3 separate regions of the Homo sapiens genome follow, and all the other regions are linked to region 1. The links are contacts of gene promoters, found by promoter capture Hi-C in blood cells and fetal thymus (Javierre and others, 2016). All regions are on one chromosome and are shown on one strand. Each heading gives the region's core, a stretch centred on a gene start or on the middle of the fragment in contact. The rest is flanking DNA. Distances are from core to core; before and after follow the strand shown.

Region 1 (4,804 bases), core at 1-2,500:
GTGAAGCAACATACATAGGCATCCCTATTCTCAAGCCCCAATTCATCAGTTTAGCGCCACTAAAGAAGAATTTAAATCTCCGGACCCTCATTTCCGTACTCCGATGAAGCTTTGCACTCGCGTTCCCGCACTACCCGGCCAGCCTCCCTCAGCTGGCAATTACAAGGTCCTTTGCTGCCCGGAGCACAAGAGTGCAACTCGCTACAGTGTTCACATGTTGCTCTCCGTCATCCCAGCATCTCCTCCCATTTCTGCGCACCTATCCCTTCATGAGCCCCCAAAAGAATTCGTATCCAGATGCCCATAGCTCAAATTAGAATACCCCTCATCTGACATTGCCAGGGCTTCCTGTACGACTTCCAAGAGAACACGCGATGCTAAGCGCTTCTGTCTCCGGAGACCAGCAACACACGCTCCCCACTGAGTTCGGTCTTCTCTCTCGCTCTCTCTCCGCGGAATGCCTACTTCGGGGCTACCCTTTGGCTAGGGAAGCCCAACCTTGCAACCTCTGCCCCGTGACCTCGCGAGCCCAGCACGCCGCTCAAGCTTAATTCAACCCATTCTTGGAGCTCGTGCTCTCGCTGCCCCTTGTTCCCGGTTCTCTTTGAAACCGCTTTCAGCCCCCGAGCCAGACCCCAGGTTAGATGAACGCCCACTTGCTCCGGCGGCAGCGCCTCCTCGGCCCCTTCCACAGCACTCAGCCCGGGGCAGTTCAGTTCCTCACCTAGCTTCGAGCGGGACTCCTCCAGTTTCTGGATCTGGTTTTCCAAGAAGAGCATCGCCACCGCGAAGGCCACCACCGCCAGCAGCTGCAACTTGGGCGGCATCATAATCCTGAGGAGCCCCATGAAACCCGCTGCTCGGGATCAAGACATACCGCGGGGGGCGGGGAGCGGGACCCCGGAGGCGAGAGAGACGCCGGGAGGAGCCCGCCGAGCCGGGAGCGAGGCAAAGAGAGAGCGACAGCGAGAGAACCACCGCAGCGACCCCCCTTCTCGCCTCTCCAGTCCCCCTCCCCCAGGCGCTATCACCAACGCCGCTGGTGTCCGCTTCTCCTCAGCCGACTAAACGGCCGCCCCCTCCAAAAGCCCGCGCAGCAAACAGCGCGAAGCGGCTGCCGGGCTCTCGCCTCCCTCTACTGCCTCAGTCCCCGACCCCCGCGCCCGCCTGCTTGCCCGCCTCCCTCTCTTCCTTCCTTCCCTCCCTCCTTTGCTCGCGGCCGCGCGCCCCTCCACCGGCGCTGCGGCTGCGCCGCCCTCATCCCCGCCCCCGCCCATCCCCCTCCGCCACCACGCGCACGCATCCGCGTACGCTGCTCGGCAACCAGAAGCCCCGCCCCTCCCCCCGTTCGGGTCCGCTTATTGGACGGAAGAGCCCCTGCGCTTCGCTCTTGGTTCGGTTTACGGTTGGTTTCCTCTGCCACAGAGCTCAATCAAGACGACATTCAATTGGGTAAACTTGGAGAAGAAGGCGGGGCTAAAACTGGCGAAGGCGTGGCTTCTTGGCTGCTTGACGAAGTGTCGTGAATAAAAGAAAGGAGACCGCAGAAGTAAAGAAGTGGGGAGTTTAGGCAAGTGCCTGATTTGGGTAATCGAAAGCACCCAGTGATTGTATTTGATGACTTTTAAGCTTTCATATGCCGTTATTTAATACCTGTCACTTCCAAATGAGAGATGTAAGGGCAACGGCCGTTAGCGTTCTGTTTTGGATCAGGCTCTGGAGTGGACGCCCCTAGCTTAGGGGTCCTTCTAGGCAGCCAGAAACCTGCGGAAAATGGTAGCGATGGCGGCTGGGCCGAGTGGGTGTCTGGTGCCGGCGTTTGGGCTACGGTTGTTGTTGGCGACTGTGCTTCAAGCGGTGAGTGTAGATCACCTTCGCAGCTGCCACAGGGAGAGTAGGAGTGATTGCAGCTGAGAAAGACGCAACATTCGGTCCTGGTTGAAAAGGGTGGGGAGGACTGCGCTTCCTTAATGACTGCTGCGGCCAGAATGCAACGTGGCTTAATTTCTCGGTTGATCCTTCTCCTTCCCCGCCTTGGGTTTCTAGCAGCAGTTTTCTCTTGATTTCAGATTGTCTTGGGTACGTAGCTTCTCTTATACGGCTCTTGCTAAAAACAATCTGTAAACCACACCAGGTGGGAGGGGGGAATAATAAAGCTTGGCAAGAAGTGGAGGTTGTTTTTAAATGGACAGAAATGCAAGAGACTCATGACGAGACTTCCAACTCTTAGAGGCAAGTCTTCAAGTCGTTGGTCCAGGCGAACAGTTTGTGTTTACCTCTCTCGCGCGCGTGCTCTCTCATTTTCACTACTTCTGTTAGTCTCTTAACTTCCGTTCTCCTCTGCTATTCATATACGGCTGGCTGCGCTTGAGTGCGATTTGTGCTTTTAAACAATGTTGTTGGAGTAAAAGGAGTTATCTATACCAAAGTATAATTCATTTTTGAAGTTAGTTTTTTAAATGATGTTCGTTGTCTTCTTTAAGGCAGCGTTTTTTATTTCATTTTTCTCTATTGGCAGAATAGATGGGTGACCTTTGAATGGGAAAAGTGTACTTTTAACTTATTTCTTCTCATATCCATGTTCTGCTGTGTGAATAGTAAAATTTTAGGCACAGTGCTGAAAGCTTTTACGTTTTTTTATCCTAGCTTAATTCTTCGGGTAGTCTCTAATAAGGAGACCTGGTTTAATTTACTTATCCAAGGTTGAGGGTGTTAAGGGACTACACCGGAGTCCTCTATGAACACCTGTACTTACCTTTCTCAAAGAGCTTGAAAGCATCCTGGCTGTTTGCTTTGGCTACTTTAACCAAAAGGTAGATTCTTAACTTCTGTAATTAACATTCCAATTATCTTGTTATTCAGGCATTTGGTGCTAGGAATTACTGGATCACCTCTCCCTAAACTTTCTACTGTTTAAGGGTTTTTGCACATCTTTAGGTCATTCGAGATAACATTTCAGGTTGTCTTTTTTTGATCTCCCTCTGTCTTTGACTGTCAGTTGTCTATAGCTGTGTAACCGCCCTAAAACCTAGTAGCTTAAAACAGCAATGATTTCTCATAATTCTGGGTCAGTGGAGTAGAACTACTCCACCTATGTTGGTTTTCCCCTGGCCTCATTTATGCTTTTTGTTGACCTAGTAGGTCAGCTAAACCGAAAGGTTCCAGGATTACCACTGTTTATAGTTGGTGCTGTCAGCTCGAGGACTTGGTTCTGTTCCGTGTGACCTCTCATCCTCCAGTCGGCTAGACCAACTTCTTTTCATGGCACTCTCAGGGCAGCACTCCAAAAGAGCAAAAGCTACAATGCCTTCTAAAGCCTTGCCTTGGAAATCACATATATTACTTCCATCACATATTTCTCAAAGCAAGTCACAAGACTAGTTCACATTCAGGGATGGAGAAATAGATTTCATCTCTACATGGGAGGAATGACAGAGTCACTTTGCAAAGTGTGCATACCAGGATAGGAGGTATTTATGGAATTAACTAATTCCATATGTAATAATGATAGGAATTAATTAAACAGCGTACCACAGTGACTGTGCACAGAATCCAAACTAGAAATTTGGATGTCATGTTTGACTCCTTTCCTTACATATATCATATCCAGGGAATTACTGAAACTTACTGATTTTAATTCCTAAGTATCTCAAATCCATCCACTTATTGTTAATCACTCAGGCCATAAACATCTCTCTCCTCAGAAATAACAGCGTCTTGGTTCACCGTTTGAATTATCCCTGGCTGTATTCAGAATCTAAATGGTTGGCTTTGCCTTTGTCAGCTTCCCAATTGCCCAAGCCAAAAATTAGTCATTTTTGGCCAGTTGTGGTGGCTCATTCCAGTGCACTTTGGGAGGCTGAGGTGGGCAAATCACCTGAGGTCAGGAGTTCAAGACTAGTCTGGCCAACACGGTGAAACCCCGTCTCTAGTAAAAATATAAAAATTAGCTGGGCGTGGTGGCGCATGCCTACTCGGGAGGCTGAGGCAGGAGAATCACTTGAACCCAGGAGGCGGAGGTTGCACTGAGCCGAGATTGCACCATTGCACTCCAGTCTGGGTAACAGAGCAGGACTCTGTCTCAAAAAAAAAAAAAAAAATAGTCATTTTAAATCCTCTTTCCTTTCACTGTCTGAATTCAATTAGTCGTTAAAGCCTTAAAAATCTCTAAGCCAGTCCACTTAATAATTTTGTTTCCACAGTTAGTATTTATATTCAGGCTACTATCTTTGCCTAGAATTACAACAGCTTCCTTAACTAGTCTCCCATCTCATTATTTCATTTCCAATCTCTACAGTGCATCAAGTGATCTGCCTAAAATTTAAATCTGTCATGATTAAAACTCTTCAGTGGCTGCTTATTGTTTTTTAAGGTGAAGTCTGTCTTCCTCAATGTTCCTTAAGGAGGCACTTGTTTGTCTATCCAGGCTTATTCCCCAACATTTACTTCTATTAGGAGAGCAGAAAGGTACAAGTGGAGAATTGGCATCACTTGTTTAGCTTATTTCACATACTGTATTCTCCCTCACCAGACCTTTGAGCATGGTGTTTTCATTACCTACAAGCCGCTTCCCAGCGTCTCATCCTTTCCTCCCTTTCTCCTACCCTACAACAAAAATGGCTGTCTTCTACTTACTCTCTTTCTGTTCTTAGTAGAGAAATCACTTCCTCCAACAAAGCTTCGCTATCCCTCAAGTTTGGATTAAGAGTCTTTCTGTGTGCTCCAGTGGTGATCAATATTTATTCTCTGAGATACGTTCCATAGTTTTCTTTAATAATTTCTTGTTCTTTGGCATTCTCCTACC
Region 2 (4,804 bases), core at 962-3,461, 6.0 Mb before region 1:
TTCCTCTATTGCTCCACTGAAGGGTTATCAATGGCCTCCATGTCACTAAATCCAACAGTCAATTCTCAGTGCTCACTCGCAGAGGAGCACTCCCTCTTCCTAGATCCACAAGCTTCACTCGGCTTCAGGGCACCTCACTCGGGTCTCCCACTTCACTGGCTGCTCCCTTTCAGTCTCCTTGGCTGGCTCACCCACTACCCTGTCTTAAAGCTGCATTGGTCCCCAGAGCTCCATCCTCAGTCGTCTTTTATTTACACTCACTTCCTTGGTGATCTTAGGCAGTCTCATGGCTTTAAACGCCATCTAAATGCTGATATCTCTCATATACCTCTAGCTTGGACCACGCTCCTTAATCCTAGACTCATTCATACATACAACTGCCTAATCAAGATCTCCACTTCAATTTCTAATAGATACCTTAAAATGGAACTTCTCCAAAACTGAACTCCTCTTTTGCCTCAAACTTCCTCTATTTGTAGTCTTCCCCATCTCCCTTGGTGTTTTCCCCATAACCTTTATTAGCATTCTTATCCAATTTGATTTTATTGATTACATTTATTATTTATTGCCCCTCTCTCTCACATCCACAAGCGCAAGGATTTTTGTCTGTTTTGTTTATGTAACCGAAACAACTTGAATGGTGCCTGGGTACTCATAAATCTTTATTAAATGAATGAATGAAACCACTAGGATTCATCCTTATCTTACTCAGAAATTACTGTCTCTTGACCCAAACAAAATCAATGAAAAATTGGTTTATCTGCAAGCAATAAAATAAGACCAAGTAGCTGTAGTTCCAGCTACATGGGAGGATGGCTTCAGCCCAGGAGTTTGAGTCCAGCCTAGGCAACATGGTAAGACCCCTCTCAAAAACAGAAAGAACAACCACCACAACAAAAATCACCTAGGTTTAAAACCTGTGTCTGTGTGTGGGTTGAGGGAAGGGGCAGACATGAAGGTATCTCTTCAGAACAAGGCACCTGAACAAGGCTTATGCAAAAACCAAGTGAGAATGAGTAATGGTTTGCTTCTGGGGAAACCCCTTCTCAGAGCAACAGGCCGGAATGAGCTCTAACGGGCCACCTAAACTTTGTTAGCATCACGCTTAAACGTGGTAGGTGGGGTAAAAAGCAGCCAAAAAAAAAAAAAAAAAAAAAAAAGCTGCTTCTTCCATTACAAGTCACTTGGATCAACAGCTGTTCTCCCACTAGGGTGGCTCTTTTTTCCCTTATTTGGAACTCATTGTCAAAAGAAAGACACCACACCCTGTGTTATGTAGCCTTAACCAAGCAGCAGGCCACGTCCCAGGCTCCCTGCCTTCAGGACTGTATTTAATTCGGTGTTTTTGTTTTTGTTTTCTTTTGAAATCAGTGTTCCTGGACGGGGCCAGGAAAACTCTGAAGCTGTCTTAAAAACAATATAAACCAAAAAAGTCGGAATTTTTTAAAAGTACATTTTTAAAAAAAGTTGTAGGCCGTTAGAGGCGAACTGGAGCGTGGTAAGGGGGGCACCGAGTTCAGCAGTGGGGCGCCCTGTCCGCGTTCGAAGCTGAGCCCAGTCCTGGGGGGATGCCCCGGTCTGCGTCTCCAGCTGCGGCAGACACCCCCTTCCCCCGACCGCCACCAAGGGCGAGGGAGGACGAGCCAGTCCCCAGGGAAGGAGCCCCAAGCTTCCCTTGAATTTCCAAACAACCCGTCCAGACACGTCCTGACTCCAGGAGAAGAGTCCATGGGGAGCGTCGGTGCTGCCGGGGCGGGTGGCGGGACGCGCAGCTGGGCGCAGCGCGGGGAGCCGGAAGCCGGAGCAGACTGCGAGGCCAGCGCGGTCCGGGGGTCGCCGCATCAGCCAGCGAGAAGCACGCCCCAATCCGCGCCGAGCGTGCGACACCCCCGCTGCCGCGGCGCCCCCTCCCGCCTCCGCGCGCCTCCCCTTTAAGCTCCAGGCGCAGTCGATTTGTGTCGGCGGAGGCGAGGTGCGACTCCCCTTTATGGCGGAGTCGGCAGCAGCCTCTCTGACAGCCGCGGCGGCCGGCGGGCGAACAGGGCAGGAGGCTGGGCCTCTGGCCTCTCGCCGCCTTCACTGCAGCCGGGCCGAGGGGAGCGCGGCGCGCGCCGCGGCGGGGGCGGGGGAGTGGGCGGGCCCGGCCGGGCAGGGGGCGGGGAGGCGGGGGGAGGCGGGGAGCCCGGCCGCCAGCGCTCGGGTCCGCCTCTGACTGCAGCGCGGCGGGGCGATGTGTGATTACCATGGCGAGGAGTCTCTGTCCGGGGGCCTGGCTAAGGAAACCCTATTACCTCCAGGTAGGCCGGCGGCCGCCCAGCCACCAGCTGCGGGAGCACCCGGCCGTGTGCCCTGCCGCGCCGCGCAGGACTCGCCCGCTCCCCTCCTCCCTCCCTGGGTCTGTGCCCGCCCGAACCCCGCTGCCCCCTGCCGTCCGGCACCTGGCGGCGCGCCCTCCCCAGCCCCCTCAGCGGCTCTGCCGACGCCCCCCACCGCGGCCCTCGCGGCTCCCGCGCCGCGGCCAGCCGGGCTCCAGGGCCCGAGTCGTCCCGCCCGGGTACGCCCTCGCATCCTGAGAGCCCCGAGACGTGACCTGGGTACGACCCCGCGCTCCGGGCATTGCCCGCAGCCCTGCGCCGCTCCAGGCGGAGCTCGACGGGCCGCCTTCTCCCTGGTGTTTTCGGGGCTTTCCCCCCTCCCCCGTGGGCCCCCGCAGGTCGGTTGCCCTTGACTCAGTGTCTTGGGTCTTAAGTCGGTGGTAGGAAAGGTGGTGTAGCATTCCTCCGTGTCTTAGAAAATTATGACAATTTGTCACACCAGTGTTTCCCCAGGCTCCAAAAAGCAGCGTGTGCCTCGTGCCGAGCCCCTTGGTTGGGTCGTTCCATCACACCCAAGATTTAAATGGGAGGTGGAGACCGATAAGCCTGAACCAGGCGGATGGGTGTTTGCTTTTTAAAGGAAAGGGGCTAGTGGCTGGTCTGTGGATCCCAAATACCCTAGTAATGCAAACGTAATTCTCAGTCATGTCGTGTGTACGGTTCGCGTGTTAATTTTTCATGATTTCCCGTTCCACCCTCTGTTCCGCTGCCAGTCTGTGCCTTGGAACCCTACTACTGCCTAAGTGTACTGTTTGGTCACCAGGGGGACCTAGTAGACACCGCGAGTAGCTGAGCGCAAATCCATCACTCCGATGGAAAAACAACTACAAATCAATGCCTTGCGTGGGTCAGCAGTGTTAGCCAACGCTGCATTCAGAGGACAGTATTCCTTTACCGCTTACATTAAAAGGCCAAGAGGTAGATGATTTGGGGTCAGCTGGTGCTTTTATAAATTATGAAAAAAGTTGAGAAGGTAACCATCATGAGGCAAGTAAATCTTACATTTTTGTTTGAAAATTGTATGTGTAAGTCATTACCCTGAAATGAGTGACGTATTGCAAATTGGAAGCATGATTTGACAACCCATGATATTAAGCGTGTACGAATAAAACTGAGTCTTTGTAGCAAGCACCACCAATAGTAATTGTGCACTTGAGTAACACTGTCACAACCCCTTCTAGAATTCAACCCAGGCCAGGTACCTCTGTGTAATCTTTTATGTGAGTTTAAAAAAAAGCTTACCGGCCAGGCGCGATGGCTCACACGTGTAATCCCGGCACTTGGGAGGCCGAGGCGGGCTGATTCCTTGAGCTCTGGAGTTTGAGACCAGCCTGGGCAACATTGTGAAACCCCGCCTCTACTAAAAATACAAAAAAAAAAAAAAAAAAAAAAAAGTTGGTTGGGTGCCTGTGGTCCCAGCTACTCCGGGAGGCTGAAGTGGGAGTATGGCTTGAGCCCCGGAGCGGAGATTGCAGTGAGCTGAGATCACGCCACTGCACTCCAGCCTGGGCAACAGAGTGAGACCTTGCCTCTTAAAAACAAAAACAAAAACAAAAAAACGGCCAGGCGCAGTGGCTCATGCACTTTGGGAGGCCGAGGCGGGCGGATCACGAGGTCAGGAGATCGAGACCATCCTGGCTAACACGGTGAAACCCCGTCTCTACTAAAAATACAAAATATTAGCCGGGCGTGGTGGCGGGCGCCTGTAGTCCCAGCTACTCGGGAGGCTGAGGCAGGAGAATGGCGTGAACTTGGGAGGCAGAGCTTGTGGTGAGCCGTGATCGTGCCACTGCATTCCAGCCTGGGCGACAGAGTGCGACTCCGTCTCAAAAAAAAAAAAAAAAAAAAAGTGTTTTACTGTGGAAATTTGTATACCTTCAGAAAACAGAAAACAATAATGAACTGTCATATGCCCATCAGCCACCCTCATCAGTATTTTATTTCATTTCACCTCCCCCACTCCCTCTTCCAACCAAACTTATTTATTTATTTATTCATTTATTTATTTATTTAGAGACGGGTCTCCTTCTGTTGCCCAGGCTGGAGTGCAGTGGTGCCATCTGGGCTCACTGCAGCCTGGACTTTCCAGGCTCAGGTAATCCTTTCACCTCAGCCTCCTGAGAAGCTGGGACTACAGGCGCACACCACCATGCCCAGCTAATTTTTTTAATTTTTGTAGACACGGAGTTTCGCCGTGTTGCCCAGGCTAGTCTCAAACTCCTGGGCTCAAGCAGTCCTCCTGCCTTGACCTCCCAAAGTGATGGGATTACAGGCATGAGCCATCAAGCCTGGCTGAACCAAAGTATTTTAAAGTAAACCTCAGGCATCACATCATTTCATCTCAGTACCTCAATATACATTTCTAATAGATAAAGATATTTTCAGACATAATCATAATACCATTATCATGCCTAACAAAGTTAATAACA
Region 3 (4,804 bases), core at 1-2,500, 5.9 Mb before region 1:
GTAAACAGACAACTGTCACTTGTAGAATCCCAGGTTTCACAAGCAACTAGGGTCAAGAATCTTTTTCCTCTACCTTCCATGTCACAGACTAGTAGTTTCATAAAACAATAAAAATGAATCCTTAGAGAAATATGGAATAAAAGAAACATACAAAATGCAGGCCCCAATTTATTACATTTAACAGGTATAAAATTATTGTTATATTGCTTTCAAAAGGTTTTAAACGCTTTCAATTTCCATATTTGTTTCTTCAAGGACCAGCACCGGTAATTGTGCCAAACTTTTGCGAAGCACTGCTCCAGACAGCAATCAGTGATGCCAAACGTCGGTTTGTTCGGAACACGCTATGTCCCACTTCGAAAACCTAGCCTCAAATAACAACTACGTACCTCTCTCGCTTCCCATGTTATGTTTTTCAAAAGCCTAAATTACCTGCCACAAAGCTTAACTGGGCAAGAGCACATTCAGCAGTAATTCCCCCACTAAAACAGCACTGTTCCCCATCAGCTAAAGCAACATTTCATCCCACCCTTGGGGCCCTACCCCAATAATTAAAAACTCATCCGGCGACGGACTCTAGAGGAAGAGGCAGGAGGCACGTATTCCATGTTAAAGGAGCTTCCGGGGCCCAGGGACCCCTCGGCCTCCAAGCTCCACTGACAATTTTGGCTTAAAAGCCACTTGCTCAGCCCACGGGCACAAGCTTCCTAAATCTAAGACTTGCCGGCTCCGACATTCTCCTGGAAAACCCACGAAGTACTCGGTACTCGGAGGTCGAGTGGGACCCGAGGACCTGCAGCCCCCCTCCATTCTGGCGTTCCCCAGCTAGGCTGAGGTCGACTGCTTGCGACCTCTCACGCCCGGCCGCTTGCCAGCGCCCCCTCACACTAGACGGCAGTATCCGCACTCAGGCTGTCTACTAAACTCACCCTTCTCCCCAATCCGCCGTCCAAGCTCACGCAACCCTTCTTCGCCAACCCCTCCCCCCAAGTTCGCGCACCGGGCGGCAGCCATTTAAGGCCACGCTGGGAACTGCACCTCGACCAAGTCAGAGCTAGCAATCTAACGCCATCCGGCCCCTGCGACGCGCGAGACGGGCCCTAGGCTGGCATACGGGCAAGAAAAGGGAACCTCCATGCATCTAAAGCCCCGAGACCGAGGCATCCACTCACCATCCTGCGGAACAGAGACCGGCGTCCGCTGCTCGACAGAGACCTGCAGGCCCAGCGGCGCTAGGGGGTGGGAAAAGGGCCACAGCCCTTGCGCAGGCGCAGTATGTAGCGCGGACGGTCACGCCAGTGACGTGTGAAAGAGAGAGGGCGTCGGCCACAAGGCGTTTTACGTTCCGCCCCCTGCTGGAAGGAGGGTGAATGCCTGCCCAAGCTCTCCAGGTTCCAATGCTCGGGGTATCTCACAGGATCCGTGCGGTGAGGAGGAGCAGGGAGGATTACTGGAGCCTTTCGCTTTCTTTGCTACAGCGTTTTGTTTTGTTTTGTTTTGTTTTGTTTTGTTTTGTTTTGTTTTGTTTTGTTCATAACGCATTTTGCTTTTCTAAGCAGGAAAAAAAAAAAAAATTAAATAGGACAAGTTTGCTTGGGAGCCCTCTTGCCTTCTCTGGGCTACTCATTCTGGTCCAAGAGCATATGGACCCACCCTCCCATCTCACCCCCAGGAAGCCTTCCCTGAGAGCCCCAAGCCTGGGATAGGGGCCACTCCTCTGCCTTCCTACAGCAGCTTTCTACTGGCTTCAGCCCACCACAGACTGTCAACTTTTCGAGGTGGGCCCTGATGTCCACCTCTGACTCTCCAGCACCTAGCAGGGTATCAGCTGCTCACCGTTAGAGCTGGGAGAAGGGACGGCCAACCAGGATGACAGGGTTAAGTGACTCCAAAACACTGCCACTAGAATAAATCAGGATTAGGATGCCAATTACTTCTGATTCCAACTTGTAATTCCTTATATAATAGGAAAAATAAACAGAGTTCGCTATGGCCGATGTCAACAGAGCTCTAGAGGAGAAAACTTAAAACACTTTTCACAGGAAGTGTGATTCTACTTTTGTGGAGCCACCTTTGAAAGGGTAAAGAAAGAGGTATTCAATTCGTATTTATAGAAAATATTTAAAAACCTTCATTTTGGTGGATTATCAAGTTATTAGCCTACCAAAGGTGCTCCATGTCTTGGTCAGGCCCTGCTTACACTGGAGGCAAAAGCATCAGGAAGGAAAGTCTGCCTGGAAACAGGCCGACTCCTAACTTCTGCATGTTTTAGGGCAAGGGTTCATAGGAAGACCCACATACTATTCATCTGAATATTTAGAAGTTGTGGGCCGGGCACGGTAGCTCAGGCCAGGTGCGGTGGGTCACGCCTGTAATCCCAGCGCTTTGGGAGGCCGAGGCAGGCGGATCGCGAGGTCAAGAGATCGAGACCATCCTGGACAACATGGTGAAACCCCATCTCTGCTAAAAATACAAAAACCAGCCGGGCATGGTGGCACGCACCTGTAGTCCCAGCTACTCGGGAGACTGAGACAGGAGAATCGCTTGAACCCAGGAGGCAGAGGTTGCAGTGAGCCGAGATCACACCACTGCACTCCAGCCTGGCGACAGTGAGACTCCGTCTCAAAAAAAAAAAAAAAGAAAGAAGTCATGAAGCAGGCTGGATGTGCTGGCTCAGGCCTGTAATCCCAGCATTTTGGGAGGCCAAGGCAGGAGGATCACTTAAACCCAGGAGTTCGGGACCAGCCTGGGAGACTTGGTGAGCCCCTGTCTCTATAAAAAATAAAATCCAAAAAAAGAAGTTATGAAACAAACAACATGTTAAATTAAATATACTTTATCATCCTTATCCCTCTCCTTCTTACCTTATAAATCCATAACAAGAAAATTAAAAATATGTATACCTATTCCCCTTGGTCACAGTCAGGGGTCTGTGGCTAGCATGGCTGGTTCAGCCAGTGCAGTTGGTGACACCAGGAGCTAGGGGGTAATTGTCCAGCATCCTCAGCCAACAGCATCTTATTCAAGTGGTAAAAGTTAAAAAACCACCAATAGTGGGATGAATTAACATTATAGGTTCACACCTGTAATCCCAACATTTTGGGAGGCTGAGCCAGGAGGATCACTTCAGCCCAGGAGTTCGAGACCAGCCTGGGCACATAAGAAGACCTCTATCTCTAGGGAAAAAGAAAAAGGAAAGCAAAGAAAAAATAAATTAACATTATATGCCTCCTGATGCACTGAGAAGAACACAAAACACTTCCTACCAAATTTACATAATCTAATCTAAAATAGTTATCTAATATGTACCAACCAAATCTAATCATGATGAAACTACACGTAAATCCAGATTTAGATAATTCTACAAAGTAACTGGCCTGTACTCTTCAAAAATGACAAGATCATGAAAGATAAGGAAAGCCTAAACAATATTCCAGACTGAAAGAGACCAAAGTGACATGACAACTGTATGCAATGTGTGATTCCATATTGCATCCTGGACAAGAAAGGAAAAAGGGAAATAAGAAGTCTTTGTATTTCTTTTGTTCAAAGGACATTGTCAGAACAATCGGTGAAACTTTACTGAAGTCTGGATTAGGTGATAGTAATGAATCAATGTTAAATTCTGATTTTTTTTTGAGATGGAGTTTCGCTCTTGTTGCTGAGGCTGGAGTGCAATGGCGCAATCTCGGCTCACCACAACCTCTGCCTCCTGGGTTCAAGCGATTCTCCTGCCTCAGCCTCCCGAGTAGCTAGGATTACAGGCATGTGCCACTATGCCCGGCTAATTTTGTATTTTTAGTAGAGACGGGGTTTCTCCATATTGATCAGGCTGGTCTCGAACTCCTGACCTCAGATGATCCACCCCCCACCTTGGCCTCCCAAAGTGCTGGGATTACAGGTGTGAGCCACCAAGCCTGGCTAAATTCTGATTTTCATAGGTAGACTGGTTATGAATGAGAGTTCTTTTTTTTTTTTAAGGTAATACACACTGAACTATTTTGGAGTAGTGGGCATTATTTCTGCAACTTGGTCCCAGTAAATGGCTTAGGAAGAAAATTACATGTGTGTATATACATACACATATATGTGCATGTAAAGAGAGAGATTAATAAGGCAAAAATGTGTTAAAATGGTGACAGTGGGGAACTTGGGAGAAGAGTATATGGAAATTCTTTGTACGGTTCTTAACCCAAGCAGTGGTTTTGAAATTATTTCAAAATAAAAAACAAAACATTGGCTGGGTGTCATGGCTCACCCCTGTAATCCCAGGACTTTGGGAAGCCTAAGCAGGTGGATCACTTGAAGTCAGGAGTTTGAGACCAGCCTGGGCAACATGACAACTCCTCATCTCTACAAAAAATAAAAATTGTAGCTGGGCGTGGTGGTACGTGCCTGTGGTCCCAGCTACTCGGGAGGCTGAAGCGGCAGGATCACATGAGCCCAGGAGGCAGAGATTACAGCGGGTCATGATCTTGCCACTGCACTCCAGCCTGGGTGATACAGTAAGACCCTGTCTTGTAAAACCAAAAAACAAAAAACCTGCGCTAGAATGGGAGCTATTTGTTATTTATTATTCCTTCTAGAATATAGCTTTTATTATTTGAAATGAAAGTGAACTCAGATTTGGCTGGGCACAGTGGCTCACGCCTGTAATCCCAGCACTTTGGGAGGCCCACGCGGGCAGATCACAAGGTCAGGAGTTCGAGACCAGCCTGGCCAATATGGTGAAACCCCATCTCAACTAAAAATACAAAAATTAGCTGAGCGTGGTCGTGGGCACCTGTAGTCCCAGCTACTCGGG

The links. The method cuts DNA at HindIII sites, captures the fragments that hold promoters and counts their contacts. A CHiCAGO score of 5 or more calls a contact.
Region 2: the fragment with the promoter of DIPK1A here is called in contact with the fragment with the promoter of HS2ST1 in region 1 in 1 of 17 cell types (naive CD8 T cells); the score reaches 6.0 in naive CD8 T cells.
Region 3: the fragment with the promoter of RPL5 here is called in contact with the fragment with the promoter of HS2ST1 in region 1 in 2 of 17 cell types (total CD4 T cells and activated CD4 T cells); the score reaches 7.6 in total CD4 T cells.

The regions. Positions count from the first base shown.
Region 1 is chr1:86,911,081-86,915,884 of GRCh38, reverse strand. It overlaps HS2ST1 (heparan sulfate 2-O-sulfotransferase 1), which reads right to left and starts at 1,250. Exons shown (of 7, transcript NM_012262.4): 1 at 725-1,250. The coding sequence starts at 848. SELENOF (selenoprotein F) reads left to right here and starts at 1,759. Exons shown (of 5, transcript NM_004261.5): 1 at 1,759-1,857. The coding sequence starts at 1,774. RefSeq lists enhancers at 1,510-1,629, 1,680-1,839, 1,233-1,847, 1,950-1,999, 1,848-2,462. The HindIII fragment of the contact is 1,083 bases long and covers 549-1,631 here.
Region 2 is chr1:92,958,869-92,963,672 of GRCh38, reverse strand. It overlaps DIPK1A (divergent protein kinase domain 1A), which reads left to right and starts at 2,211. Exons shown (of 5, transcript NM_001006605.5): 1 at 2,211-2,297. The coding sequence starts at 2,244. RefSeq lists silencers at 1,851-1,930, 2,091-2,650. The HindIII fragment of the contact is 1,943 bases long and covers 1,672-3,614 here.
Region 3 is chr1:92,828,486-92,833,289 of GRCh38, reverse strand. It overlaps RPL5 (ribosomal protein L5), which reads right to left and starts at 1,250. Exons shown (of 8, transcript NM_000969.5): 1 at 1,173-1,250. The coding sequence starts at 1,175. It also overlaps a transcript of DIPK1A not described here. RefSeq lists enhancers at 172-809, 962-1,281, 810-1,448, 1,452-1,501. The HindIII fragment of the contact is 14,223 bases long and covers 706-4,804 here.